Linked DNA regions of Homo sapiens: all the other regions are linked to region 2. Evidence: promoter capture Hi-C in 16 types of primary human blood cells and fetal thymus (Javierre and others, 2016). All regions are on one chromosome and are shown on one strand. The core of a region is centred on a gene start or on the middle of the fragment in contact, and the rest is flanking DNA. Distances in the headings are between cores, read along the strand shown.

Evidence for each region. Contacts are between HindIII fragments. The CHiCAGO score rates a contact against its expected background, and 5 or more counts as called.
Region 1: a fragment that was not itself captured here is called in contact with the fragment with the promoter of MTHFD2 in region 2 in 1 of 17 cell types (activated CD4 T cells); the score reaches 5.4 in activated CD4 T cells.
Region 3: a contact is called between the fragment with the promoter of SLC4A5 here and the fragment with the promoter of MTHFD2 in region 2, in 1 of 17 cell types (naive CD4 T cells). The highest score is 6.0, in naive CD4 T cells.

The regions. Positions count from the first base shown.
Region 1 is chr2:74,059,889-74,062,588 of GRCh38, reverse strand. All of the region lies in intron 4 of TET3 (tet methylcytosine dioxygenase 3), which reads right to left. Among named protein-coding and RNA genes, the nearest start is that of TET3, 76 kb to the right of the region's middle. The HindIII fragment of the contact is 6,470 bases long and covers 1-2,700 here.
Region 2 is chr2:74,197,174-74,199,873 of GRCh38, reverse strand. MTHFD2 (methylenetetrahydrofolate dehydrogenase (NADP+ dependent) 2, methenyltetrahydrofolate cyclohydrolase) reads right to left here and starts at 1,259. Exons shown (of 8, transcript NM_006636.4): 1 at 1,132-1,259. The coding sequence starts at 1,232. RefSeq lists silencers at 501-590, 721-1,000, 1,191-1,330 and an enhancer at 1,039-1,597. The HindIII fragment of the contact is 3,357 bases long and covers 1-2,700 here.
Region 3 is chr2:74,342,025-74,344,745 of GRCh38, reverse strand. SLC4A5 (solute carrier family 4 member 5) reads left to right here and starts at 1,330. Exons shown (of 31, transcript NM_133478.3): 1 at 1,330-1,390; 2 at 2,212-2,288. The HindIII fragment of the contact is 2,074 bases long and covers 1-1,932 here.

The DNA.
Region 1 (2,700 bases), core at 188-2,687, 140 kb after region 2:
TAACGGTACTTCTAAAGAGAAAAGTTAGCACCTCTATAATTTCTCCCACCTCCTCCTTTACTTCTGCTTTTCACTGGTATCCTCAGGAACATATTTCCCTCTGCTACATGTTAAGATGTTTAACATAAAAATATATCTTAAGTAGAGTTTAAGTAAATATCTTTTGTTTTAGAAAAATAACTGTCATTTAAAGTTAGACTTTACATTTGAACAGATTTAGTGTTCATCGCCAGCCTCTCCATACTACAACTTCCCCATCTATTATTATTTTGATTCATCTCTAGAAAATTTGAGTTCTTGCATATTTAAAAATGTTTTTATGGATTTTTTTTGGTGGAGACGGGGTTTCGCTGTGTTGGCCGGGCTGGTCTCCAGCTCCTAACCGCGAGTGATCCGCCAGCCTCGGCCTCCCGAGGTGCCGGGATTGCAGACGGAGTCTGGTTCACTCAGTGCTCAATGGTGCCCAGGCTGGAGTGCAGTGGCGTGCTCTCGGCTCGCTACAACCTCCACCTCCCAGCCACCTGCCTTGGCCTCCCAAAGTGCCGAGACTGCAGCCTCTGCCCGGCCGCCACCCCGTCTGGGAAGTGAGGAGCGTCTCTGCCTGGTCGCCCATTGTCTGGGACGTGAGGAGCCCCTCTGCCTGGCTGCCCAGTCTGGAAAGTGAGGAGCATCTCTGCCCGGCCGCCATCCCATCTAGGAAGTGAGGAGCGCCTCTTCCCGGCCGCCATCCCATGTAGGAAGTGAGGAGCGTCTCTGCCCGGCCGCCCATCGTCTGAGATGTGAGGAGCGCCTCTACCCGGCCGCGACCCCGTCTGGGAGGTGAGGAGCGTCTCTGCCCGGCCGCCCCGTCTGAGAAGTGAGGAGCCCCTCCGCCCGGCAGCTGCCCCGTCTGAGAAGTGAGGAGCCCCTCCGCCCGGCAGCCACCCCGTCTGGGAAGTGAGGAGCGTCTCTGCCTGACAGCCACCCCGTCTGGGAGGGAGGTGGGGGGGGTCAGCCCCCCGCCCGGCCAGCCGCCCCGTCCGGGAGGTGAGGGGCGCCTCTGCCCGGCCGCCCCTACTGGGAAGTGAGGAGCCCCTCTGCCCAGCCAGCCGCCCCGTCCGGGAAGGAGGTGGGGGGGTCAGTCCCCCGCCCTGCCAGCCGCCCCGTCCGGGAGGGAGGTGGGGGGGTCAGCCCCCCGCCCTGCCAGCCGCCCCGTCCGGGAGGGAGGTGGGGGGGTCAGCCCCCCACCCGGCCAGCCGCCCCGTCCGGGAGGTGAGGGGCGCCTCTGCCCGGCCGCCCCTACTGGGAAGTGAGGAGCCCCTCTGCCTGGCCAGCCGCCCCATCCGGGAGGGAAGTGGGGGGGTCAGCCCCCCGCCCGGCCAGCCACCCCGTCCGGGAGGGAGGTGGGGGGGTCAGCCCCCCGCCCGGCCGGCCGCCCCGTCCGGGAGGGAAGTGGGGGGGGTCAGCCCCCCGCCCGGCCGGCCGCCCCGTCCGGTAGGTGAGGGGCGCCTCTGCCCGGCCGCCCCTACTGGGAAGTGAGGAGCCCCTCTGCCCGGCCACCACCCCGTCTGGGAGGTGTGCCCAACAGCTCATTGAGAACGGGCCATGATGACAGTGGCGGTTTTGTGGAATAGAAAGGGGGGAAAGGTGGGGAAAAGATTGAGAAATCGGATGGTTGCTGTGTCTGTGTAGAAAGAGGTAGACATGGGAGACTTTTCACTTTGTTCTGTACTAAGAAAAATACTTATCCTGTTGATCTGTGACCTTACCCCCAACCCTGTGCTCTCTGAAACATGTGCTATGTCCACTCAGGGTTAAATGGATTAAGGGCGGTGCAAGATGTGCTTTGTTAAACAGATGCTTGAAGGCAGCATGCTCGCTAAGAGTCATCACCACTCCCTAATCTCAAGTACCCAGGGACACAAACACTGCGGAAGGCCGCAGGGTCCTCTGCCTAGGAAAACCAGAGACCTTTGTTCACTTGTTTATCTGCTGACCTTCCCTCCACTATTGTCCTATGACCCTGCCAAATCCCCCTCTGCGAGAAACACCCAAGAATGATCAATAAAAAAAAATAATAATAAATTTAAAAAAAAATGTTTTTATGAAGACTTTACATATGGATGGTGACTTAAGTAAGTCGAACTTGGATCAAACTTTTTAATCTCAATACTCTACTCTGAGAACTGCAATACACGTATCCAGCTAAGAACCCATATATCCAAAATAAAGAACCCTTACCACTCAATAAGAAAAACAATACAGAAATGGGCTTGAACAGCAACTTGAATGACTTGAACCGGAACTTGAACAGAAATGACTTGAACAGGAACTCCACAAAAGACGGCATATGAAAAACTGCTCACCCTCATTAGGCATCAGGGAAATTCAAATTAAACCCACAGTGAGATACTATTATACATCTACCACAATGGCAAAGACTGGATGGCACCATTTGCTGGTGAGAACGTGGAGCAATGCTGGTGGGAGCTTAAACTGTAACAACCACTTTGAAAGACCAATGGTACCTACTAAAGCTCAACACACACAATTTCAGTCCTAGGTAAATACCTAAGTATACACATGTATACATAAATGCACCAAGAGACAGGTATAAGAATGTCTTATATCAGCATGATTCATAATAACCCCAAGTTGGAAACAACCCAAAAGACCATCAGTGACCTACTGGATACACTGTGGTGTATTCAAAAAATGGAA
Region 2 (2,700 bases), core at 10-2,509:
AATGCCAGCGCTCTAATGACCGACCAAATCACCTTCCCAAGGAAACCCAAAAATGCAAACAGAGCTTTTCCTTTCCTCCTCCCCTGTATATTTTTCCCAATTTTGTTATTGTGGTAAAATTCACATAACATAAACCTTATCAACTTTTTTTTTTTTTTTTTTTTTTGAGACAGGGTCTCGCTCTGTCGCCCAGACTGGAGGGCAGTGGTGCAATCACGGCTCACTGCAGCCTCGAACTCCTGGGCTCAAGCGATTCTCGTGCCTCAGCCTCGGCGCGTGTCACCACGCCCGGCCCATCTTAACCATTTTTAAGTGCAGTTCAGTGGTATTAAATACGTTCATATGTTGTGCAACCATCACCACCATCCATCTTCAGAACTCTTCATCTTGTAAAACTGAAATTCTGCAAGTACCGCTGAAATATGGGTACTTGTCACTCTCCATTCCCCCTTTCCCTAAGGCCCTGGGAGCCTCCCGGATGTTTGCCACCTCTATGTACGCAGCCCGGCACTGACAGGCTCTGGTGGGCTGCAGCCAAAGCTAGGGTGCCCAGAGTCCGTTCATGTTCCTGGCAGAGCGGAGGCAGCGCGGGCCACTCCCACCGGCGGAGGGAGGAGGGCGGCGCGGGGACCCCGAGCAAGTCGGCTCCGCGATTTCATCAGCTGCAGCAGCGCCCTCCGCCGCTAGGGTCCCCGCAAGGACAACTCGCCGAGGGCTGCTCTTTTGGAACCCTCGCCTGTTCTCCCCCAGACGACTCTCAGCATCCCAGCCAGAGGCGGCCGGCGCTGTCGGAAGGCTCCGCGTAAACTGATGCCTTCGCGTTCCGCACGCCACCCCCGTCCCGCCCGCCGACTGGCCACGGGCCCCGGCGACGCCCCGAGTCGCAGGAGAGCGGCTCCCTCCGAAAGGCGGGCTTCGGGTACCAGCCCTCCGCGCCGAGGAAGCGCCCCAGTCGAGAGCTGCGGCGGCGCTCGGTGCCACGTCGCCCCGCCACACCCCTCAGCGGCCACCACCGCCGGGGCGGAGATGTTCGGGAAGGACTTCCCTCGGTGTCCCTCGGGGGCCCGGCGTGCCCCTCGCCCTCCGTTCCCCTCAGCTTTCCGCGCTGACCGAGCTCTGTGACCCTCTTACCGAACTGCCGCGAGGTGGAAAGGGCGAAGGCGAAGGGAGCAGCTGTGCGCGGGCTGCAGCAGCCGGGCAGCCAAAGCAGACATTAGAGAAGTCGCAGCCATAGACCGCGCCGGTGACTGCGCCGGGAGGGAAGCGCGCGCGCGGGCCACGCGGTTATACTGCGGCCTCGTGGCAGGCCCCGCCTCCCTCCGCCACCCATTGGTCCCTGCCGCATGCCACTGGCTGTCTGTTGAGCCAGGTGGAGCCGAAGGGGCCAACCGGTTTTCTTTATTAAACGTAAGCGAAGTCCGAAAGAGCCCTGCTTTTGATTGGAGCCAGAAGAGCCTGGAGCGAGGTCCTGTAAGGCGCTGAAGCCTCGGCAACGTGCCATGATAGGCTGAGGAAGTCAAACTCCTGCCTGACGCCGCTAGTGTCACCGAAGGCCGGACAACACAAGAGAAAAGTTCATTCATTCATTCGTTGAACAATTATATGAGCGCCTACTGTGTGCCAAGCACTGTAAAGGGTGGATGAAAAGACAAGCTGATAGAATGCCAACGAACAGAAGTAAAAGGAATGATGGAGTTAGAAAATCACCATTTTCCAAAATCAGTACATGGTGGCGCGTGACTACAGTACCAGCTACTGGGGAGGCTGAGGTGGAAGGATCACCTGAGTTCAGGAGGTTGAGGCTGCAGTGAGCTGAAGGCGCGCCACTGCACTCCAGCCTGGGCGACGAGAGTGAGACCATATCTCAAAACAACAACAAAAAAAGTAAAATCATAAAAGATATTCAGAGACAGACGTCAGGGTTGCATGTGCAACCCTGATTCAGAAGCAGCAATAGATGTCAAAACAACTGGGTGAAAGTTGGATGAGGAGCAAGATATTTACATATAGGGTTGCCAGATCTAGCAAATAAAAACACAAGATGCCCAATCAAATCAGAATTTTAGATAAACACTTTGGGAGGTCATATTTATACTTTATTTATGGCTTATCTGGAATTCAGATTCAACTGGGCTTCCTGTATTTTTTCCCGCAAACTTTTTGCATAGTCTCAAAGTATCTCTCCCGCAAGGAAACTTAAGGAGGGCAGGGCGCGGTGGCTCACTTCTGTAATCCCCAGCTCTTTGGGAGGCCAAGGCGGACGGATCACCTGAGGCCAGGAGTTCGAGACCAGCCTGGCCAATGTGTTGAAACCCCCGTCTCTACTAAAAACACAAAAAATTATCTGAGCATCGTGGCGGACGCTGTAATCCCAGCTACTGGGGAGACTGAGGCATGAGAATCGCTTGAATCTGGGAGGCAGAGGTTGCAGGGAGCCGAGACTGTGCCACTGCACTTCAGCCTGGGCAACAAAAAGACTCTGTCTCAAAAAACAAAACAAACAAACAAAGAACAGGGGAAACCAATCCTGTCAACACCTTGACCTTTACTTCTAGCCTCCAGGAAGGAAAGGAAAATGGTAAATTTACAGTGAAGAAACATGACAGTTACTGCTTCAACCACGTGATCAAAGTTAGCACCACCCAGTAAGGGAACACACATATATGCCTTCTGATAGGATCCATTGAGGAGACACATCAC
Region 3 (2,721 bases), core at 81-2,580, 140 kb before region 2:
TTGAATCCCCAACCAGCTGGAAATTCCCTAAGGCCCGAAACTGTTTCTGGCCTAGGCTGTGCTGATCTTCCTGGGACTAAGGGGTTTCCTGGGTCACAGATCTTCTGTGCTAAAACCAGGAAAGCCTCTGGTGACCCAGCATGTGTTGATCTCCCTAGTCTTGCCTGTCTTTGATTCCATGGATTATTAACAGAAACTATAATGTTGGGTTAATGTGTTGGCTTGGGCATGGCCTCCGAAACATGTTTTTTACATGTCTGCCACCAGCAGGCTCTAGATCCAGGAATGAGGCTTTTCCACTAAGGGAAAACTCCACGTGATCTAGGAAGAAAGTGAGGATATCCAACCAGATGATAAATTTCCTATCTGAAAGAGAAGGTCAACCCTGAAATAAGGAGGCTGAAGACCCTTAGAGAAGCCACAGAAGAGACTGGAAGAAGAGGGGTAGAGTTGCTTTTTTAATGGGGCTTCCAGCTCCTACTTTTCTTCCTGTCTGTAAGTCTCTGAGCTTCTGTTCCAGCTCTGTAAGGTTGGGGACGAGAATGCTCTCCCCACTGGACTGTTGAGAGTTCAATGAGGGGAAATGTGTGCATATACCAGGCCCCATGCTGGGTGCCCAGAGACGCTGCGCCTTCCTGGCATGCTTCTCTTCCCCATCGCTCAGCACCGCGTCCCTCACTCCCTCCACTCCCGATTCTCACTTCCTACTCACTGGCTTCTTCCTTCCCATCTTCCTCCAAACTTCCCATTTTCCACTATGTCTCTCTCACCGTATCTTTTTCACTTAAACAAAAATGGAATTCATAAAAACAGAGGCCAAAAGTCAGGATAAACCTGGAAAAATCACCAAGTACGCAAAGTTTTTCTTGCAAGGTTTGGTTTTTTCAAATGCCTTCTTTGTTTTCCTTGCCCATATCCTTCTTCGGAGAGTCAGGATTTGGGGTTTGCAGAGCTGTGTGGCAGTGGAATGTGGAATGTTCTCCTGAATCTCAGTCCCATGAAGAAAAGAGGCAAAAGTCCTGACATCTTTCCTGAGGATTGTCTGATTTAAAAGAGCTGATTCTCCCCAGGCAAATGACTTACCTTTGTTGTGCTGGGACAAGCTGAACAGGCAAGGAATAAACCTCCCTAGAACACACTGATTAGATTAGCCAGTGAGAACCACTGAAGACGCAGACATTAGATTAAAAAACAGAAAAATGAATGTTACTTTTACAGTGGCTATGAATAGACAAAGACTTTTTGGTTTGAAAATAGTTGGTGAGGCAATAGAGGAGGGGCTATGTTAATAGCAGAGATAGAAAAAACGAGAGGTGGATGGTTCCAACTGCAAGGTCCACCCTAAAGGAATTGGAGTCAGGGCCCAGGAGCCACAGGCCACTGCACTGGGGTAAGTAGAGTGGATTTTACATAAATAAAGTTACAGAGTGGTTGTAGGTTCTGGTTTGGAGATGTGAGTGAACCAACTGAATAGAATAGGCAGATTCCCCAGCCCACCAAGAGTCAGATGAGAATTTTATTGCTTTTTGCTAAAGGCCTGTACAAGACTTAGAGCAAAGATAAGGAGTAACCTGATTGTTGAAACTAATCTATAAGTATTCCAACATAGCAAAGGACAAGTAACGGAATGACGAGGTTTTCCTGTAGTAGTGTTGCGATTTTGTTCTGCTGTGTCCCCCTACTCCAGTTTCCTCTGTGAGGGGAGCGTGTAGTGTGTGCATATCTGTGGAATGTCAGACTTCTAAAGTCAGGGGCTGAGACCTATATCTAGTTAGACCTCTGTGCATATTCTTGAGCCATGGGAGTCTCAGTGGTTGATAGTACTTCACACTTCTTCCAGTTCAATAAGGGTTACCTATGGTGTCTCCTCTGAGTCTCCTAGGAGTCCAGAAAACATGAGACTTGTATAAGAATCCACACTTCAACTAAGCTTTCTGGCCCAAAGAAGGCATTGTTACCAAGGATCTGTTTCTTGAGGTCTTTAGGGAGTGAGAGGGAAGGAACGCATGAGGAACCAGAGCTAGTCCCCATCTCTCTCCCTAGAAGTGACAGACTGCATAGCTCTTATGTATCAGGAGTCCTGGAGATCAGCTGGCTTTCCTTAAAAAAGGGTCATCCAGCCGTGATGAAATCCTGACTTAGAAACCCAGTGCCCTTAGCTTTGTGGGCTTCTGTCCCTGAGAAATGGTGTTTTACCCTCCCTCCAAGCAGGCATCCCAGGATTTGGAATTCAGCTGTGAGCTCATGAGCTGATGGATGTTTCCAGGAGTACCCTGAAGACCACCCAGGTATGCTCTCCCCACCTCCTTTATTTTGGATGGACCAGTCTAAGGAGAGTCATCTTTTCCCACACCATTGGTGGCACTCAGTGAGTGGCTTGTTGCTTGACTGAATGCCTGCCCACACCCTCTCCAGTCAAGTTTATCTTGAGTAACTAAACACTTAGCAATGGAGACACTCATACATCTCCACTGCACTAGAAGTAGGGATGGTGGCCATGCCAACAAAGGAGATAACTTTAGCACAAAGGATGTCACAAGAAACAGATAGTAGAGTGTGTTCTCCAGTGTTATCATTTCCCAAACCAGAATCAACTGGTCTTGGGTTTCCTTCCCTCATCCTTCATCTGTAGAAAACTTTGTTTCTTGAGCTACTTCAGATCTACTTCCCTATCTTAAGAGGTGGGCTATGTGCTTCTTCTGCTAATTTATTATCTCAGAA